Linked DNA regions of Homo sapiens: regions 1, 3, 4 and 5 are each linked to region 2. Evidence: promoter capture Hi-C in 16 types of primary human blood cells and fetal thymus (Javierre and others, 2016). All regions are on one chromosome and are shown on one strand. Each heading gives the region's core, a stretch centred on a gene start or on the middle of the fragment in contact. The rest is flanking DNA. Distances are from core to core; before and after follow the strand shown.

Evidence for each region. The method cuts DNA at HindIII sites, captures the fragments that hold promoters and counts their contacts. A CHiCAGO score of 5 or more calls a contact.
Region 1: a fragment that was not itself captured here is called in contact with the fragment with the promoter of AFTPH in region 2 in 13 of 17 cell types (neutrophils, naive CD8 T cells, activated CD4 T cells and 10 more); the score reaches 12.6 in neutrophils.
Region 3: a fragment that was not itself captured here is called in contact with the fragment with the promoter of AFTPH in region 2 in 1 of 17 cell types (monocytes); the score reaches 5.6 in monocytes.
Region 4: a contact is called between a fragment that was not itself captured here and the fragment with the promoter of AFTPH in region 2, in 3 of 17 cell types (non-activated CD4 T cells, neutrophils and total CD8 T cells). The highest score is 5.6, in non-activated CD4 T cells.
Region 5: a contact is called between a fragment that was not itself captured here and the fragment with the promoter of AFTPH in region 2, in 15 of 17 cell types (M2 macrophages, neutrophils, total CD8 T cells and 12 more). The highest score is 13.5, in M2 macrophages.

Annotation. Positions count from the first base shown.
Region 1 is chr2:64,854,626-64,858,663 of GRCh38, forward strand. The region is part of intron 1 of LINC01800 (long intergenic non-protein coding RNA 1800); the gene reads right to left. Among named protein-coding and RNA genes, the nearest start is that of LINC01800, 7.0 kb to the right of the region's middle. The HindIII fragment of the contact is 8,781 bases long and covers 1-4,038 here.
Region 2 is chr2:64,521,888-64,525,693 of GRCh38, forward strand. AFTPH (aftiphilin) reads left to right here and starts at 2,441. Exons shown (of 10, transcript NM_203437.4): 1 at 2,441-2,725. AFTPH-DT (AFTPH divergent transcript) reads right to left here and starts at 2,268. Exons shown (of 1, transcript NR_136167.1): 1 at 302-2,268. It overlaps MIR4434 (microRNA 4434), which reads left to right and starts at 3,626; the gene lies at 3,626-3,678. RefSeq lists enhancers at 1,998-2,217, 2,319-2,819, 2,820-3,320 and silencers at 2,418-2,577, 2,608-2,687, 2,698-2,947. The HindIII fragment of the contact is 6,179 bases long and covers 1,038-3,806 here.
Region 3 is chr2:64,941,010-64,945,017 of GRCh38, forward strand. No RefSeq gene overlaps it. Among named protein-coding and RNA genes, the nearest start is that of LINC02245, 11 kb to the left of the region's middle. The HindIII fragment of the contact is 1,220 bases long and covers 1,564-2,783 here.
Region 4 is chr2:64,139,053-64,143,040 of GRCh38, forward strand. The region is part of intron 1 of PELI1 (pellino E3 ubiquitin protein ligase 1); the gene reads right to left. Among named protein-coding and RNA genes, the nearest start is that of PELI1, 3.4 kb to the right of the region's middle. The HindIII fragment of the contact is 2,351 bases long and covers 132-2,482 here.
Region 5 is chr2:64,878,096-64,882,461 of GRCh38, forward strand. No RefSeq gene overlaps it. Among named protein-coding and RNA genes, the nearest start is that of LINC01800, 17 kb to the left of the region's middle. The HindIII fragment of the contact is 3,256 bases long and covers 858-4,113 here.

The sequences.
Region 1 (4,038 bases), core at 76-2,575, 330 kb after region 2:
CTCTCTCCCCAAAACTCCACTTCCCACCCCCAGTCACAGAAACTGCTGACATACACCCCAATGCCTGGCTCTTTTTTCTTTTTCAATACATAAGAAATAAAATCGAATGAAAATTTGGCAGGGAGGAAGAAGTATACGGGCTCTCATGTAACTGCAAAGTCCAGTATGAATCCTGCTGACTTCAGACATGGCTGTATCCTGAGGTTCAGCAATGTTGTCAGGGTTTTGTCTCCATCCCAGCAGCCCTTGTGTGTGGGAGGAGAGGGACACTGCCAGTTCTGGTGTCACATGAGGCTGAGTAAAGAAGAGAGGAAGCTGCTTCCTGGAATGGGTCATGTGAACATGCAGATATAGACACATCCTTGGTCCAATCACCAAGGACTCCAGGGTATGGAGTCTTCTGACTGATCTGGCTCAAGCTATGTGGTCACCCCCATGGTTAGCCCACGCTGGAGGTAAGAGGCAAAGTGTGAGGTCAACACCACCCAAACCTTATGGACTGAATGGTCTCTTTGGAATAAGGAAAGGTGATTGCCAGGCAGAGGAAAGAATGCTGGGTAGCAAAATGAATCCTCCATAGGGCCTTCACTAGCCTTTCTTGCCCTCCATCCAGGAAGAGCCTCCATTCTTTCCCTACCATGTGCAAAGACTCCACCCTATCCCTAAGCATCTCTGCCTACTTGGACCTCCCTGGGCAGCACAACTACACTCAGGAGCAGAAACCCAACCCTGGAGGTCATTGTGTTAATTTTGCTTTCCAGAGAGCAACTTGGCACTGCACTGAATTCTGATGTTCTTATTATCCTTTAACTCTGCATGGATGCTTTTAGGAATATGTTCTAAAGAAAAATTCAGCAAGATGCAAAGATGTACGAACATAAGGATGACCTTAGGTAACCATTTATTAACTTCGAAACAACATAAGTGGGCATCAACAGGGGAGGGGTTGGCCAGGTGCAGTGGCTCACACCTATAATCCCAAAACTTTGGAAGGCTGAAATGGGAGGATTGTTTGAGCTAGGAGTTTGCGGCCAGACTGGACAACATAGTGAAACACCATCTCCACAAAATTTTTTAAAAAGCCAGATGTGGCCGGCCATGGTGGCTCATGCCTGTAATCCCAGCACTTTGCGAGGCCGAGGCAGATGGATCACCTGAGGTCAGGAGTTCGAGACCAGCCTGGCCAACATGGTGAAACACTCTCTACTAAAAATACAAAAATTAGCTGGACATGGTGGCATGCACCTGTAATCCCAGCTATTCTGGAGGCTGAGGCGGGAGAATTTCTTGAACCTGAAAGATGGAGGTTGCAGTAAGCTGAGATCACGCCATTGCACTCCAGCCTGGGTGACACAGCGAGACTCCATCTCCAAAAAAAAAAAAAAAAAAAAAAAAAAAAAGCAAGATATGGTGGTGTGCATCTGTAGTCACAGCTATTTAGGAGGCTGAGGTGGGAGGACTGTTTGAGTCCAGGGGTTTGAGGCTACACCACTCCACTCTAGCCTAGGAAACAGAGTGAGACTCTATTTAAAACAAACAAACAACAACAATGACAAAAATCGGTAAGTGGGGGTTAAATAAATTATGATGAAGACAAATGAAGGCCAACCATGCAGCTGTTTCAAAGGATAATTCATTTCTGCATTTATTGACCATAAGATTTAATTGTTTTTTTTTTTAAAAAAAAAGATCATGTAAGTACCAAATATATCCTCATTAGTATAGTGGTGAATTAAAAATTTTTTTGAAAGGCCGGGGGGTGGCTCACGCCTGTAATCCCAGCACTTTGGGAGGCCAAAGTGGGTGGATCACATGAGGTCAGGAGTTCGAGACCAGCTTGACCAACATGGTGAAACCCTGTCTCTACTAAAAATAGAAAAATTAGCTGGGCATGGTGGCATGGGCCTGTAGTCCCAGCTACTTGGGAGGCTGAGGCAGGAGAATCACTTGAACCCAGGAGGCGGAGGTTGCAGTGAGCTCAGATCGAGCCACTGTACTCCAGCCTGGGCAACAGAGCGAGACTCTGTGTCAAAAATAAATTAATTAATTTAAAATTAAAATTTTAAAATGTTTTATAAGTAAAAGTAAATATAGTATGACCCCATCTTTTAAAAACATAATTCTTGTAAATCAGAGGGGAGACCATAGGGTCCAATCCCTCTATAGACTTAATGCACAGTTTAGTGCTCAAAATTAATACAGAATAAATTCCATTATTTGATCACGTATTTGGAAGAACATTAAAAGACTCTGGGTCATAGTCGTGTTAGCTCATCTCAGAAGCCCCTTCCTCCACATCTGATTATTTAGAGAGCCTCAAATGTGCTAATCTCTGAAAACTCTGTTGAATTCCCTTCCATAAGGCTTTTCCCTGTCTGGACGTCTTCCTTAGCCCATTCCATTCCTTCATCATGCAGATCAGCTTAGCTCCTCTCAGCAAGTAATAATTGTTCCTCTCCCTAGAAGAGAGAAGTGAAGGAAACCAAATAGACAAATTCAAGATTTTCTTCAGTAGACAGGGGCAGGAAGAATGCTAAGAGCATGACCATGTTAACAATTTTAGCTCACATAAAAACATATGTCTGTATGCACAGAAAATAGTATGGGAAAAATATACAAAAATGTTATCAGGGCTATCACTGGTGGCGTGGTGACAGGTGATTTTTGTTCCCTTCTTTATTTTTTTTGTCTGAATTTCTTTTTATAGAGCATGTTCTACTTTTATATTCAGAGTTTTTTTTTAAGTCATCATACTTCAGCATATTTCTTTTTCTTCTTTCTTTTCTCAAGATCTAGCAAAGGATAAAGAGAATTCAGTTGCAAAATCCAATCCTCAACACAGGATGATTTATCTTTTTTTCTTTAATTTTAGAACTTTAAAAAAGTAACCCCCTTCCACACATACCAGCATGAATAAAAGACTATTCCTTTGTAGGTTTATGAATTCACTCATAACACGCAACTGTGCAAATTCATTTAAAATTAAGTAGCCTGAGCACGTGGTTAAGGACTGAGTTTGCTCCAGGGGCCAAGGTCAGTCCCTCCACAGTAGGAACAGCTTTTCTGCAAACAGTTTCCCTGCAAACTCCCCTTCCTCACAGAGAAGCTGGCCCAGGCACCATGCAGCCTGGCCACTGAGGTGTTGGTGACCCCACGCTGCCACACTGGCGTTTCCATAACCCCCTTGTGTGAGCCTCCAATGGCCGGAGGGGCCTTGGCTGTGGGTGTGAAGACAGTGGGGGCCCCTGCTCTGCAGACTTGCGGTGCGAAAACTCTGGGGTCTGAGCAGGGTAAAAATCACTCTGCTGCCTGCTTTCCTCTTCCTGCTGGGTTCCTCCCAAGCTGCTCTCCCATCTCCCCTGGGACCTCTCTGGCCAGCTCAGCTTTTGTGTTTGGGCCAGGCGGGAAGAAGCACTTGGCCCGACTCCTTGCTTGTCAGAAGTCCAGCATTACCAGGGGTCTTGCCTGGTTTCAAGTATTTCCCGGTGCCTTTCCTCGCTCTGTAGTCAAGTTTCTAGCCAGGATTTCTTGGCTCTGGGAAAGATTGAATGCCTGTCTGAGCCTTCTGGGCCTGTGTTTCATTTGCAGCTGCCTGGCCCTACACTGGGTGACAGTCTCAGCCCTCCCCAGGGCAGCCCGTCCCCTCCTGCTTGGCCAGCAGAGGAGGCCCTTTGTGTCGCTGTCTTGGTGCTGGAGTGGAAGTGAGGCTTCTAATTATCGTCCCCAGCCCCGTGTCCTGGGTTTACTTCGGCTCCAGCCCAGCGTCAGGGGCAGCACTCCCTTCTGAGAGCAAGCAATTCCTGCCTGTCTGTGAGACCAAGCAGACAAGAATGCCAACCGCCAGCAGCCCCAGCCCCTAACTGTTTCTAAGTCAGACTAGGACCTGTTCAGAACCTGGCACTTTCCTGCTAGAAATTTCCAGCTGCTCTGATCTTTCCTGTAGGGCTTGGCAAGGCCAAAAAGGTCTGGAACCAAAAGAATTCATAAGAACATCAGGCCTGGGCCGGTGGGCACCTCTCCCTCTGTCTGCTCAGGGAC
Region 2 (3,806 bases), core at 1,191-3,690:
CTGAGGTTTTGTTCTTGCTTGTCTGTTAATTTCTTACACAATATAAAATGAATTAAACTGTTTTCACTTTTTATTCTTTCCATCTTTTTTTCCCCTCTTAATTATCATTCACTGCTGGTTGGTAAGGAGGTGGTAAAATTAGTGCACTCATATATTGCTGGTGGCATTCTAAATTAGCAGTCTCTTGGAAAATAATATGAGATGATAAATTACCAATAAAACATTCATTGCCTTTTCGCTTAGTAACTTTTATACTGAGAAAAAAAATTCTAAAATTGAACAAAGCCACACACACAAAATGTTCATCTAAGTATTATTTTATAATACTGAAAACTATCCATATAGTGGTCATTCCATTGACTACTAAGCAGCCAATTAAAATTAAGGTTTTACATTAAACGATGGGTGGAAATGCTTACAACACAAAAGGGACACAAAATCTACTTAAATTATGATTACAAGTTTGTAAAAAGTACGCACAGGAAAAAAAAACTAGAAGTAAATACAACAAATGTTAACTGGTAATTTTTTTCTTCTTCTTTTCTTGATGCCAAATCTTAGGTAATGCAGTTATGGCCATAATTTTTAAAAGGTAAATAAAAACAATACTATCATTGACTCCAAATGAAATGGACTTTATATTTCCCACAGATTTATCACCTTAAAAACACTCAAATACTTTCCCTTTGTAATAAAATGTCATGAGCATTAGGGCACTGTCTTCGGAATTACATGTAAGATTACCAATTACAAGTTAGTTGGCCAAATAGGTACTCAATTTCCCTATTACAAAATTGTAAGCTGATGGGGGGTGTGCAATTTAATTTAATTTTTTTTTAGACAGGGTTTCACTCTGTCGCGCAGGCTGGAGTGCAGTTTAAATTCATTTAGTTTAAACATGTTCTTAGTGTAGGGTCTGCTTTAAGGTCTAGTCATATGTTCTTATTTTGATATTTCTGTTTAGTAGAGCTGTAAAATGAAAACAAGCATGTGTTCGTTTAAAATCAATTTCTAGTTTCTACACACACACAAATTCAAGCTTGCACACGAGCTAAACCAGCAGGGGGCGAAATACAATAGGCATAAATTTGACAAGCCATATAGATTTTTCTTACTTTAGTGACTGAGCAATAACACAAAATCCAGCATAACCACAAAGCAATTGATACTCCCATTTAAAGTGATGCAGTCTCCGTATATCTTACAGCGATTGAATAGTAAAGAGACAAATGCGGGTCCATTGGAGCGCTCCGAGTTAATTTGTCTAGAACATTGCAGAGGCGGGATAAATCGTGATGAACTGCTATTGTCCTTATCTTTCTCCTGATTTGTATAATTCCTCCACCCAAAGGGGTGGACACTTCTCTGTGCCTGAGGGGATGTTTTCCATTCTTGTTTCTTTGCGTAACTGCTGAGCTTTGCTGTTTTGGAACTATTTTAAATTATTCAAATTACTGATGCAGACGTTTGGCAAATATGGGCAGAATGAGGGGCCGGCGGGGGTCATGATTTGTAGGACCCCGGGCTCATCATCCGAGACAGTAATCATAATCCTGTAGCCTTGTAGTCTGATTGTTACACTGGCAGGTGTTCTAACAGATATTCATTGTAAAGGAGGAGGAAAGGTAATATTTTTATTACCTTTATATAAATAACAGTTGATTATATAAATAATCAACTGTTCAGGACTGATGATGGAAACAAAATCGGTTACGACCTCTGTTCCAGAAATGCGTTTGAATGCATAAGTTTATGGTGATCTCTTTAGCTTCACTAGATATTCTCCGTAAGGGTCTATGAAAAACGACCACCTTCTCCATCCATTAGCCAAATTCCGGACTACTATTTTCTTGTCGGTCTCGAAGACGATTTGTCAGTTTGGCGGCTGCTTTCCCACCTTAAATTCTATTTATCGCAACCTCTTGTTATTTGTTAAATATCAGCTTCTTCCTCTGTCGGCATAAATTTAAAAAGAGGAAGAGACAGGCTGTGAATGAAAAAGTCGTTTTTCGGGGCGAAAAGGGCAAGCTGACGAATGCTCTCTAGTAGGTTTTTGGTAAAAATGTGGTTCTATATTTCCAAACCTTTACAATTTTATTTGGAGAGCAAGAGACTTAATCCGGTCTTGAGCTGAACGTTAACCGGCTGAAAGGAGCACCTGTCCTTCGCCAGGAGCGCAGCCTCAACCGGCGCCTGAGTGCGGGAAGACGTCTATCCCCCTACAGCTCTATGACTCGCAAGGAAGTAAAAGGAAAGGGCAGCTTGCCCGCACCCAAAATGGCGGTCGGCGCTCTGCACGACAGCGCCTGCGCAGGGATAAGCGTTCTGTGACACCAATTCCCCTGGAGTGTCCTCCCCCACCCCACAGCACCCACCAGCGCCCGGTCCCGACCTAGCCACCTGCGCCCGGAAGTGACGTGTCGGCGGCAGCGGTTCCCCCGCTGCATGATGGGAGAGTGTGTGGAGTGGGCGGGGGGTCTCCGCGGAGGAGGTGGAGGAGGCGGCGGCGGCGGCGGAAGAGGGCGGAGGGTAGTGGGATGGGGGTCCCGCGGCAGCGGTGAAACTCCGGGTGGGCGTCCATGGTGCTGCTGCGCTGACAGGGCTGTGAGCAGCCGGCCTTCCGCTCTCACCAGTTCCGCGTCGGAATAGACGGTCCTTCCCCGGGGAGTCAGTTCCTCCCCGGGCCCCTGAGCCATGCCCATCGCAGCCGCCCCGAAGGAGCCAGGTAAGCGCCGCCGCTCCGCTCCCCTAGCTGCGCCGGGGAAAGAGGGTGCGGGGACCAGGCCCGGCCCAGCAGCCAGACCCTCACCCGGGCCGGGAGCATCTGCCCGCCGCGGAGCCGGGAGCTGTGAGGACGGAGCTGGCTCTGCGGGCCTGCGGGCTCCCGGCTCTGCTCTCTTCTGCGGCGAGTGCGGGAACGCCGCTGGTGGCGCCCGAAGCGCACGGCCCCCTCCTCGCCATCCCGGGCACCGGCCGGGTAAGTGGGAGTCCTTCCCTCCCCGGCCACCGCCGGCTCTCCCTGCCCCTTTGCTTCCACCTCCCAAAGCTCCGCGCTGGCTGCGTTCTCCAGGGAGCTGTTCAGAAGTTTGGGGCTTTGCTTGGGCTTCTTCGCTCTCCTTCCCCCTCCCTCGTGACAGGTGTAAACACTGCCTCCTTCACCGAGGCCCGAGGCTGGCCGCGACCTGAGTGTGCTGCTTCCAAGGGTCTCTGAAGCAAGCGAATTTGGAATCCTCCAACAGGCAGAGGGGACAGCCCCAAAGCTCACGCATCCCTTCCTCAGAGTACCTTTTCTGCTGTCTTCTTGCACTCTTCAAGAAATTATCTGCGTCTCCTCTCCAGTTTGCGTTTGAAAAGTTGGACCATATTCCTTAAGTGCCTGGTTTGGCAGGTGCTGCGTCTTGCTTGGGGCAGAGGCAGAGTATGGAGTGAGGGGTGGTAGGGTCCTTGCTCTATTAGGAAAGTAATGGGGATAGCAAGGTTTTTTTTTCCTTGTTGCTTTGTGCAAGTTATAGCTTGGTTATACTGAATCTTTTCTGTTGGGGCCGAGGGAAGAACTGACTCATACATGTAAATTTTTTACTGGGCGGGGGGATGAAACAAAAGTAATGGTTCCGTTTCAAAGTTCTCACTTTAGGAGAAGTAAAGTAGAACTTTGGTTTTCAACTTTTCCTACAGTGTAAGTCTTCCTTCCACCTCCTATTCCGAGGATTTTATTTGGTGGAGGGGAGACACAGAGTTTATCTTTGATGCTACACTTAATTGTTGCTTTCAGTTAACCTCTTAGACATTAAAATATATGCTAAACT
Region 3 (4,008 bases), core at 924-3,423, 420 kb after region 2:
TCTAACTCTCACAAAGGTACCTTAAGGGCTGGAAGTGGACTGGAAATAGAATTGCATGGCCCACCATTGTCGTGCGAGGCAGACACCTGAGCCTCATTCTTGACTTTTCTTTGAGCACACAGAACCATCACCCACACCATCCAGTCAGTTACTAAGTCTTGTCAATTCTTCTTTCTGTCCTCCTCCCTCCAATGCCACCAACCTGACTGGGCCACCATTATCTCTCACCTGCAAAGGTGGAGAACGCAGATTTCCCATCCCTGTGCTTCTAGAGCTAACACGGCCAACTCACCTGGGGTGAGAGGTGTCCATGTTCCTCCATTAGGTGGAGCTCAGCAATGGAAAGACCATGATAAGTGCCGGGGACTCAGCCTCTTCTTCCCCTCCTCATCCTGGCCAGAGGAAGGCAGTGATTCTCCAGAGAAGACCCAGATGGATGCCTGGGTGGCTGCCCAAGGCCTAGACTGGAGGGAACCATTGGGCAGGGAGTGACTGGAAACCCATTTGGCCCTCACAACAAAGGCACATTTGCTAACTGCTTATTCAGGAATAAAGGTGAGGTTTGACTTCCACGAGGAGGCCATCTGTGTCTATTTCTCAAACTGCTTTCACAGTGAGAATGAAAACAAATAATAATAATAATAACAATAATAATAAAGGGAGCCTGGATTACTAGTCTAGACTTTTCAAAAGGTTTTCTTTTCCATGTTCTACATAATAGCCAAAGTGATCCTTCTGACATGCAAATCCAATCATTCTGTTTCCCCTGAACAAAACCATATCCTGGCATCTCATTGCCTTCATGATAAAATCCAACTCTTTAACAGGGCCTGAAGTACCCTTGGTGATCTGGTCCATGTTTAGCTCTCCAGACTCAATTCTCACCACTTCCTTCCTTGCCCTCTCTGCTTGTTGGGCAGCCATGGAATTGCACCATCGAGGTCTCCGGCTGCAGGGAGCAGTCAAGTGACAGCCACAGTTCCCGCCCTTCAGGATCCCTCACTGCATCCCTCCAAAGCCACACGTCCCCTGAGCTAATTCCAGCCAAAGGCTGAGCATAACACGGCACTAGCTTCTGCCTGATGGGGAATTCCTCTGAGGGCCAGCTTTGGCTCAGGGACTCCCCATCTGCCTGGCCAAAACCTTCTTAGAACCATGCTGCAGTCTGAGACTTTCCTCTCCAATCATCCTTCCTGCCCTGGCTCCTTCCATGGGGTCAGACCCACATCATGATTCAGAAGCTCCAGCAGAAAGCTCTTCCTTTCGCTGCCTGCTCCTCCTGCTCTGTTAATGAACATGCCTGTCATACAGAACTACCTCCCATCATGTTCTGCTCTCCTCCCCTGGTTTTGTACATGCTGCTCCCTCTGCCTGGAAGATTCTCTCTTCTCTCCCTGACCCTTTCCCTGGTCAATCTCTATGCATCCTACAGGATCTAGCTTAGTGGTCACTTTGTTCACCCAAGACAGGCATTGATGGCTCACCGTGGCCCAGGCATTGTTCTGGGAGTGCACTGGGGATGCAATAAGGAATACAAAATAGGTAAAGCCCCTGCGTTCACCAAGCTTACTTTGTGGTGGGTAAATGGTCAATAAACATATTTTTCAAAACAGATCCACAATCCGCTGGTAGAAAAGATCAGTACTGTAAAGAGAATAAAGCAGCATGAGGGCATGGAATGGAATGATAAAGGCGGCAGGGTGGGTAGGGATTGTTTTAGACAGAAAGATTGGAGAAGGCTCCTTGTGGAGGTGATGCCTGAGCAGAGTCCTGAATAACATGAATGAGTGGGTCATGGAGCCATCTGGGGGAAGCTCTTTCCAGGCCAGGGGAAGGCATCCAGACAGCAGAGGGCAGCTGCAGTGGCCTGCCGCCCATGGCTCTGGGGTGGGTGCCCCTCCTGTGGGCTCCTGCAGCCACTCTTGCTTCCCTAGCAGAGGGCATATGTACTAGTTAAGGGAAACTGGTTGACTGGTCTGCCTCTCCTTCAGACAGCCACCCGGTGAGGACAGGACACTTGCTCGTCAGCCTAACTGGTTAGTACCCTATCCCCTGAGCCTTGCACAGCTCTCGACATGCAGTAAGTTCTGATGGCTGAATGCGTAATTACAATAATAGCTGTCCGTTCATGGAGCACTTACGGTGTGCCTGGCTCTGTGCTGAAGGTTTCACTCATACTTTCTCACTTAGTATTCCTAACAGCAAAGTAGGTAGCATTATCATCCCCAGGTATACGGCCACAATAGGCTATTCACACTTTCTCTGCCAGGCCCAAGGAAACAGGCACAGAGAATTTAAATCACGTATCATGGCTCTACAGCTGAAAAGTGTATTTCAAGATGTATAAAGGCTGGGTGTGGTGGCTCACACCTATAATCCCAGCACTTTGGGAGTCTGAGGTGGGAGGCTTGCTAGAGGCCAGGAATTCAAGACCAGCCTGGGCAAGATAGTGAGACTCTGTCTTTACAAAAAAAAAAAAAAAAAGAAAAGAAAAATTAATTAGCTGGGCGTGGTGGTACACGCCTGTGGTCCCAGCCGCTCAGGAGGCTGAGAGAGGAGGATCACTTGGGCCCAGGAGTTTGAGGCTGCAGTGAGCTTTGATCACACTCAGAGGCGTGAGGTGCCCCCAGCATGGTATGATTTAGAGGGTGGAATTCTAACAGAAGGCTCCTAGCATTTTAGTGTCAGAAGGGACATTTAGAAGATCCCATCCCATCCGCTGCACACAGGGACGCTGAGTCAGAAGGCTGAGGTGACTCTCAGGCTGCCTTACTGTTTGCTCAAGCTTAAACTTGACAACAAGGATTACAAAAGCCATTTGATCAGAGGCCTGGCACTGCTTAACTGAAATGAGAAAACATGTTGCCGTAAGGATGATTATGTAAAGGGGGGATGCGGTTCCCAGACTGGCCTTGCTCGTGTCTGCTGGAGCCCTGCCACAGTTACTCCAGCATCCTGCCCACACTGGCAAGCCCCGGCAGCCTTGGCCTGCTCTTTGCCTTAGCGTTGCCATGCTGCTTGCTTCAATGCCAACTGGCCCCATGTGCCGGCCACTCCCTGCCACTTTGGCAGTTCCTCTGGTGCTCCTGGCAGTGCCAGGCATTATGCCATGGTTCAGGCTTTCCCCACCCCTGGAGCAAAAGAAATGTGCAAAAGGCCCATCGTTCTTACCATGGGAGAGGATGCATTCAGCCCCATCATTTTACAGCAGTGAAAACTGAGTCCCGGAGGGATGACGTGACTTGCCCAAGGTTCCAAAGCTGGTTGGGGACAGAGCCTAAGCAAGACTCTTGTTCATGGTTTCTTCCTCCTTTGGGGCCTCTGCCTCCTCTCTGGCTCTCCTCTCTAGTGATCCCCATGCTGCTTCCCTCTCCAGACCAGAAAGCTGTCTTCCTGTCCTCGCCCAAGGCCCCAGCATTAGTCCCAGCCGCCATCCCTCATGCCCCATCACCTCCTCTCTCAGCCTCTGCTCTGCTCTGCTCTGCTCTTGCCCCTCCAATCCATTCTCAAAAAAATAAGCCAGGTCACATTACTTCCCTACCAAAAGCCCCTGATCACTCCCCCTCACCCAGAGGAGGGATCCTTGGCATGGCATTCTGTTCCTCCCCAGCCTAGTCCTAACTGACCTCTGCAGGTTCATTCCTAAGGCGTCCCTACACACCCCTGACATTCCAGCCACACTACTCAACTACCCCATAGGCTGCTGCGAGAATTAAATAACATCTGATAAGCCGACAGCACCTGGAGTGTAGTAAGAGCTGTCACCTGTGTGGGCTGGGCACTTCTCCACCAGACTAAATTCTAGAGCCCACCTGAGCTGGCTAGTGGGCGAGCACTGCTCTGCTCTCTGAGCCAGGACACATGTCCTTAGCTGTGACCCTGGCCAGACCCTCACCTCCCCGGGTCCAGGTTACATGCCCCAAGAAAAAAGGTACAATGAAGAACCCCTCTGCTGTCCACGATTTCTCAGGAACTTTTTCGGTTTTTGAGAAAAAAATTTGAAGTGGT
Region 4 (3,988 bases), core at 57-2,556, 380 kb before region 2:
CACTTAAAAAGTACATTCTCACACCTGAAAAAATGGACAAATCCTTTTCATTAAATATCCAGAGTCTAAATTTCCCCAATTTTGAATAAATGTCTTTTTACAGTTAGTTTGCTCAAAGCAGGATAGAACTAAGCTTCATACATTGCATTTGGTGGAAAAGCCTCTTAAGTCTCTTTTAATCTTATAGTTCTCCCTCCCTATTTCTTGCTATTAATTTTTTGAATAAATCAGGTCATTTTTCTTTTATTTATTTTTTAACTTCTATTGTTTTGAGGCAGGGTCTCGCTCTGTTGCCCAGGCTGGAGTGCAGTGGTGCAATCATGGTTCACTGCAGCCTCAATCTCCCAGGCTTAAGTGATCTTCCCACCTCAGCTTCCCGAGTAGTTGGGACCACGTCCAGTTAATTTTTTAAGAAACTTCTTTGTAGAGACAAGGTCTCACCACGTTGCCCAGGCTGGTCTTGAACTCCTGGACAAGAGGGATCTTCCCACCTCAGCCTCTCAAGGTGCTAGGATTACAGGTGTCAGCAACTGCGCCCAGCCATTTTTCTTAAAACGCAATGTATTTTATTTATTTTATGGTTTGTGTCTTATTACTAGAATGTAAACACCATGAAAGCAGAGATTTTAGTCTATGAGGTATCAGCATCTAGACCTGTGACATGTAAACGGCATCAATAAACACTGAATGTATTTGGCATCCATGCCAAAAGTCCACCGCTCACCAACAGCAGAAATTGCTAATCACAGTACTCTTTCCTGCTAAGTTTGAACAAGGACTCCCAGTTTTCTAAACACAGCACTCTAGGCAGCCACCACTAAACAATCAGATTTGGTACCCCAAACGAAATTTATTTGCTGTCCCTGCTTTAGCCCCCTTCAAAAGTGTACTATCCCTAAAACAGATTTCATTGCACCTTGTATGTTGAAATTTTAGCATGATAAATTACTGACTGTGTTTCTTGTCAACTACATTTAAACATTTCTTAGCTTATTTTAGACAGCTTAGGGGAAAAAGAAAACTGTAGCCAAAAAAATAATAGAAAAAGAAACTGCAGAAGATGGTGGGAAACCGCGGGTATTACATATTTTTAGAATTAGCAACATCCCAAGAGGCTCATTATAAAATAAAAATTAGCAACAAATTTTCTGAAAAGGAAGTAAATTACATGTGTGTTGAATTAATTTTTTTAAAAACTACATGAAGATTAACTGGAGGATGAAGACAGATGTCAGGATTTTCCCATTTATAGGCATCAGCAACACATTCTATTTTTCTGCAACTGGTATTTTGAGGTGTAAAGGTATTACAGGGGCGATACAAGAGTACTATGTAGAACCCCATTTCTCTGAAGTGGAGTTTATGTGGCAAAAAGAATCTAAAACATCTAGTACAACATTCCGAAAAATTGTCAATTCTTCTTAAGAGTCATTTACAATTCATTTCTGTTAAACTACCAGATGAAGCTCTCTTTCTCTAGGCTTATTTCTGAAGGTAGGTAAGCTAACTGAAAGACTCCAATCAGATGTTTATGTTTTGATTACTTTTTTCTATCAAAAAAGAAAAAAATTAGAAATTCCCTGACATCCATTCAAGAAACACTGTGCTTTCTCTTTATTACCTGTAAATTCATTAAACAACAAAAAGTATTTAGGACCTACTAAACATAGTATGTTAGGCAGTTATTTTCAGCCTTTGAAGGAAAAATAGAAGTGATCTACTCAAGACAACATGCAAAAAAAAAAAACAAACAAACAAAAAAAAACCTAGGGGCAGAACTTGAAATCATATCCAGATCTTTCAATGACCAATAATTCTTGTCTTGAGGTTCCCACACATTAGTCTAGGGAAATATTCTATGGCACAGGTCACACTTAAAACTAAGAAAATATAATAAGCACTTCCCCTCCCCCACTACCACAAGTGTAAAAAAATCTCCAAGAACCCAAATCCCTTGAAAGAATGACTTCTATTTACTTTGCCTGTGTAATATATTCAGAGGGAATCTGGAAAAGATGGCTAGAAATCTATAAACAGAAAGTGCTAAGTGGAATTCACTGTTTATAGACTTCAACTAGAATTTTGTCCCTTATATATAAATGCTGCCAACAATCTTTACATTGTATTATTTAAAAACATCTTCATCAGGTTTTCTTCACTTTGCTGATTTTCTTCCTTTTCTCACTGGCTTTTAAATCTGCTTTACTGTCCTCAAAGACATAAATGTAACTTTTGGAATAACATGTTTCCCGCCCCCACCCCAAAGGAGCTCCTAAAGCCACCTCAGTGCCATCATATATTAGTCATTATGAAATTTTAATATTTACAGTTAAATATATCTGTATAATAAAATAATCCAAAAAGCCTTTCTAACCTAATAAATACTAGGATAGGTCTACATTGATGTATTATGGTAAAATGTGTATGTATATATTAGTTTTCAATTCTAAGTCTTTGGCTTAAAATCTTTATCAGCTATAGAAGCTTCTGCCTAAAAACATTAGTTGTCCACGAAGCATAATGACTATCTACAGTCCTTACCACCTGACCTACTAGAAAACCATAATACATCATATTCTGAAATGATAGAACTCTTAAAATACAAAAGTGACATTCTGACAACCCAGAAGAGGCTGAACTTAAATCAAATGGAAACATCCTTTGGCTTCCCCTTTGAAACTTGCCTCAGTGGCATTTGGCAGTACTAGACTAACTTCCTACCCCGTACTTTTCAGTCATTTCCTTTAAGGGGTCTCAAAGAAATTATGAAACCTGCAAAGCCAGACTTTGCCAGTCAACACTAACTTCTGCCTGTGGATTCCAGTGACTGAGCCAAGACAGTGTTAGTAGCTTCCTTGAAGTACAAATGTTCCTGGTAAATCTGGCTTGAAAATACCACAGAAAAAGTTCAACATAACCAACTGTAAGAACATTTAAATGCCAATCTTAAGGAAAGAATGGATTCCCTCCCCCTACAAATTCCACTGAGGCAAATTTCCAGCTTACTTTTTAGAAGCAAATAAATACTACTACTATTACATTACAGCACTTCTACCATGCTAATAAAAAGCTAGGTGATAGTTTCCTCTTTAAAACCTGTACATTCACTACATGAGACACTATAACCACTTCACTACATGCAACTTTCCATACATATAACTGTTCTACTTTCCAATTATTTATTTTAAACTCAAGATCTCTTTTAACATACTATAGAAAGGGAACAGGTTAGAAGGCTTTGGGAAAAAAAATAAAATAACGAACATCTCACTTTCATTTTCTGATGCAACCACCAAAATCTAAAATGTAAGGACAACTATATAGTACAAAATTAAATTTAAGAGAATTTAGAGTAAGTGAAACTATTCACTATTACTACAGTTCTGATTATTATTTACCTGAGGAAAGAGCTAGTAGAAGTGATGCTTGGTTTAAATTTTTGGTGCTTTCCAGTATGGTACCGAAGAAATAAAAACTCACAAAATAAATAAGGTCCTCAGAGTTAAAGACTTTTCCCCAGAAGAGGTTGTTGGTATAAATAAAAAAAACAAGGAATTCATATGCTGTATTTGTACACTAAGAACAATGTTTTGAGACATGTAAATCTTATCACTCAGAAAATATTTTGTTGGCTATAAAGAAAACGCATCGTAAACTGAAACAGAACTGAATAAAGTGAACCTTTACCACAATTAAAATATTTTAAATTCACCCTATTATGAAAACTTAATAATAAATTCATTTATCCTTAAGTGTAAGAGTAATACATATTCGACACAGTAAAGGACAATGCCATTTCTGAAACAAAAGATCATGTGCAATGAAAACAAAGTAACATTTTGCAGAGTAAGAAAAAGTAAAGAGCCTGTGAACCGAAACAGATGACCTTTTCTTATATATAAAGCTTCAGTTTTTAGCACAACCAGCACCTTATGAATAAAGTTCTCAATAACATTTGTTGATATACTGTTTGATGACTAAACGACAG
Region 5 (4,366 bases), core at 1,236-3,735, 360 kb after region 2:
AAGCTACTTTCCTTGTAAGGCACAGACAAGGAGATCGAAAAAATAGAAAAATCACTGATCAGTGAACCTCAGGTTATGCCAGGCTACCTTTTGTGTGCAAGGATTAAGGCAGAGGGAACTTCATTATCCTGTCTATTGAAGATTGAAGCTGGCCTGTTTGGGAAATTGGCTGTTATCTCTCTCTCCTGATTTCTCAGAACTATAGATAATAATTTAGGTTTAGTGATGTGAAACTTTAGCATGGGTGACTCCATTTTGACTTTAACTCTGGTCTTACTGGGACCTAGTGCAGAAGCTTAGCCCAAAAAAATGGCCTATCAATTTTATTTAACACGTGTTAGAATTTCATTCCTTTCTTCCTTTTCAAGGCTGAATAATATTTCATCATATGTGTACAACACAGTTTGTTTATCCAGTCCTCCGTAGATGGACATTTGGGTTGTTTTCACCAAAAGGTGAATCAAAAGGCTTCACCAAAAGGCTGCTGTGAATAGTGCTGCTGTGACTATCAATGTACAAATAGCGGTTCGAGTCCCTGCTTTCAAGTCTTGTGGTGGCTAGTCCATTTTCAGAAAGAAAACAATTAGCAGGCTGAGAACCCAGCCCGGGTGCAGAAGACGCTACGGCAGCACGTTCTTGTTTTTTCCATCACATCCGTTGAGTCTCCTCTGAGGCCAGCAAGCCCCTCACCTTTTGTCCTCCCTTGGTGCTCCAGCCCTTGGCTCTTGCTGCTCATCTCCATGGGGTCAAGGCCCTGGGAACCTGTGATCCTAGATCCGTCATTGAGAACAGTGGGGAGCTATAAGGTTCATGGTTATCTCTTCCATATTCTTCAGAGTTGTGCATCATTCAAGCAAAGCTTTTTTAATACTAGTTGTATCTTTCAGCATGATTTCAATGTGTTTTTGTCCCGAAGAACCCATTTCCCACCAGAGGCAGAGCATGGAAGGACTCAGTGTACGCATGTCACTAGGAATTTTTTGGTTGGGAATGGGCACATGGCCTCAGCTGGCTCACTCAGGCTGACAGGAAGGAGTTTTATTTCATGGCTGGGCAGGATGTTCCCTTTTTTCTCTGGAAGTGTTTCACTTGATATTGATCAAAAGAATGCTAGCTGAACCGTGAACAAAGCTGGCACCTGGAGACGAAGGCGGGGCTGAGAGAATAGCAGGACGTGTTCCTAGAGCCTTAATCATACAATGCCTGAAGCCCACCCTATCCAGTCTACCTGTGAGGAAGCTAATAAACTGCCTGTAATTTAAATCTGGTTTGCTAGGGTTTCTGATCCTCAGGGTCAAAAATATTCTAACAGACTCAGTCTGCATGGTGTTAGGGTTTTGATTTTCACCCCAAGAGGAGTGGAAAGTCATTAAGAGATTTCAGCAGGGCGAGTCCAGGGAGGGGTGACAAGATCAGGTCTGCATTTCAAAGCAGGACTCTGGCCGCAGGGTGGAAATGGGTAGTGGCTGGGATGGTTGTACTTGGGGGCTACTGGGCTAGCTCTGGGGAGAAGTTGTAGAGTAGGACAGAGGGGAACAGATCTGGAAGTTTTTAAGGAAGTTAATAAGGTTGATGAGACTTGATGACGGTTTGTGGGGATGGGGAGTGGGGTGACCTCTAGGCTTGTGGCTGGCTCAACTGGATGAACAGGGGTGCTACCCACCATGACAGGAATATGGTTGAGAAGAAGAGATGGAACACCAAAAGTGTCAGGTTCCTGGAGGGACTGGCCTTAGGTGGGAGTGGCGACAGCTAACATTAGTTTAGTGCTAGCCATGAACCAACTGTGGCCCAAAGTGCTGTACGTGTGTAAATTTATTAAGACAATGACCTTACGCCCATTTTACTGATGAGAAAACTGAGGCACCGAGAGGTTAAGTAATTTGCCCAAGGCCACACAACTGATTAGGAAATGGGAGTTGAATCCAAGCAGTTTGGTCCCGTGAGGTTCCCAAGGAATATATGTGCTGAGAAGGCTCCCATGAGCAAATGGCATGTAATGTCTGTAACACTATTATCTGGGGCTTGGGCCCCCAACTCCAGTGCAGAGAAAACTCTGGGAAGCTAGATTTTGATTCCCAGAACAGCCTCCCTTTTCTAAGTCAGTTAGGCCTAAATGGCTTCTGACGAAGCAGCCTGGGAGGCGTGCTCGATTTCACAGCCGCCACCCCAACTTGAGTCTCCAATCTCGCCACCGTGATCTGGGCAGCCTGGCCTAATGGATCCCCAGCAGGGCCAGGGTGAGAGGCTGTGTGTTTCCTGTGTGCCGATGCTGCTGCTTCAGCCTGCTGCCAGGAGGGAGGAAGAAAGGATGTCCATACAGAAAGGGAGACAGGGATGGGCTGGCTCAGAGGGAAGCGTCTGCCTATGCCAGGGTCACTTGGAAAGAAGAGAGAGAAGAGGGAGCCACCTGCATGGGCTTCACCTCCTTGGAAAACACCACCGCTGGAAAGTGTGGCCTGGTCTCTTGCTGAAACCATCACAGGGTTAACAAAAATTACATGCCAGGTTCTGACAGAAATATAATTAAGCATTAATCAGGCTGCACTTGGCACACTTCCTTGTAGCTGCTTGCTAAATAAAAGCCACACATGACCATTTGCATTCCCATTGTTCTTATGGATAGGATCTCTGAGGTTAGCATCATAAGGCTTTCGTTTAAGGATTGCTTAAGATGTTTTTCAGATCCTGAATTCCAGCGGAATGGCTGACGCCAACCAATCTGAAGGCCCCCACAGAGGAACCAAATTGGCATGAGAATGTAGTTTCATTCCCCCCATCCCATGGCTTCACCCTGCACTCTTTGGCCAAGGAATGATCCCCACATCTCAGCCCCACACTCATGCAGACCCCTTAAAATCTCTAGCCCCAACTCCTCAGGGAGGCAGAGTTGAAGTTCACTCTCATCTCCTCATTTGGTTGCTTTATGAGTAACCCTCTTTCTGTGCTGCACCTTGGTGTCTTGGTGTCATCACTTTCCACACATCGGGCAGCAAACCTGGTATGGTGACGTTGCCTGGAGCCAGATGAGCTCTCTTCTGTACATACAGAGATGTAAGTCTTCAGCATGGCTCGTCTTGTCAACACAGAGTGCTAACCAGCGTCCTCAACAACATCCTTCCACTGGACACAAAGAAGAGCTTCCTAGCACACTATTCTAGAACATCCTTCCGAGTAGGTGACTCCAAGGGTCAATGCAGCACTAAGGCTACAGAAGTGAGGGGAGGGGCTGTGTCTACCACCTATCTTCCTCATCACTCTCATCAAAAGGCATTTCACACTTATACTGTAAAAACGTCATGTGAATGTGGTTACTTCCTCTCCCTTTCTCTCTCTCTCTCAAAATATCTTATTGTATGTAATGCTTTTGAACCTCAGTTGACCATGGGTAACTGCAACCACGGAAAGTGAAACTGTGGATAAAGGGGTATGGACTCTTGCCTCATCTCCCACTACTGGATTATCAATTCCTTGAAGGCAGGGACCATGCCATTTAGTTCTGTTATGGCCACTGCTCCCAGCACAGTGCTTGGCACTTGTGGGCACCTTGTGAAACTGATCAAAGTCCCTATTTGTTCAGAAGCCGCCTGGTCACAAGCCAGATAAATCCAAAGTGTCTTCAGGCAGAAGGAGAGGTTTAAGAGACACAGATACATTGACAGCTCTATTGCATAGGAAAGAGTTGAAATGGTTTCAAAGATTTGTTGAGCATTTCTTATATGCAGCATGCAGGCTGTGGCGCTGGGGCACACAAAGATGAACTCATATCTCTCGCCCTCCAGGGCTTCACCCTTGAAGGGGAGATACACATACTGCTGGCTACCATGCAGTGGACCAGGCGGGTATTGATGAGTATGGACAAAGGGATCCTAGAAGAAATGGGATCTGTTTTGGGGTGGGAAGATGGGTTGGGTGACAGAAGAGGCTAAGGAATGGCTTTTATAGAGGATATGACACTTGAGTGGGCTTTAAATGCTATAAATATAATTATCATAACATAAAATTAGCACTTTAAAGTGTATAACTGGGCCAGGCACAGTAGTTCATGCCCATAATCCCAGCACTTTGGGAGGCTGAGGTAGGAGGATGGCTTGAGCCCAGGAGCTCCAGACAAGCTTGGGCAACATGGCGAGACCCCCATCTCTTCAAAATTAAGAATAAAAAAAATTAGTCAGGCATGGCAGTGCATGCCTGTGGCTTTGGGAGGCTGAGGCAGGAGGATCACTTGAGCTTGGGAGGTTGAGGCTGCAGTGAGCCGTGATGATGCTACTGCACTCCAGTCTCGGCAACAGAGTAAGACACTGTCTTAAATTAATTAATTAATTAAAGTGTATAACTCAGTGGTTTTTAGTATATTCACAATGTT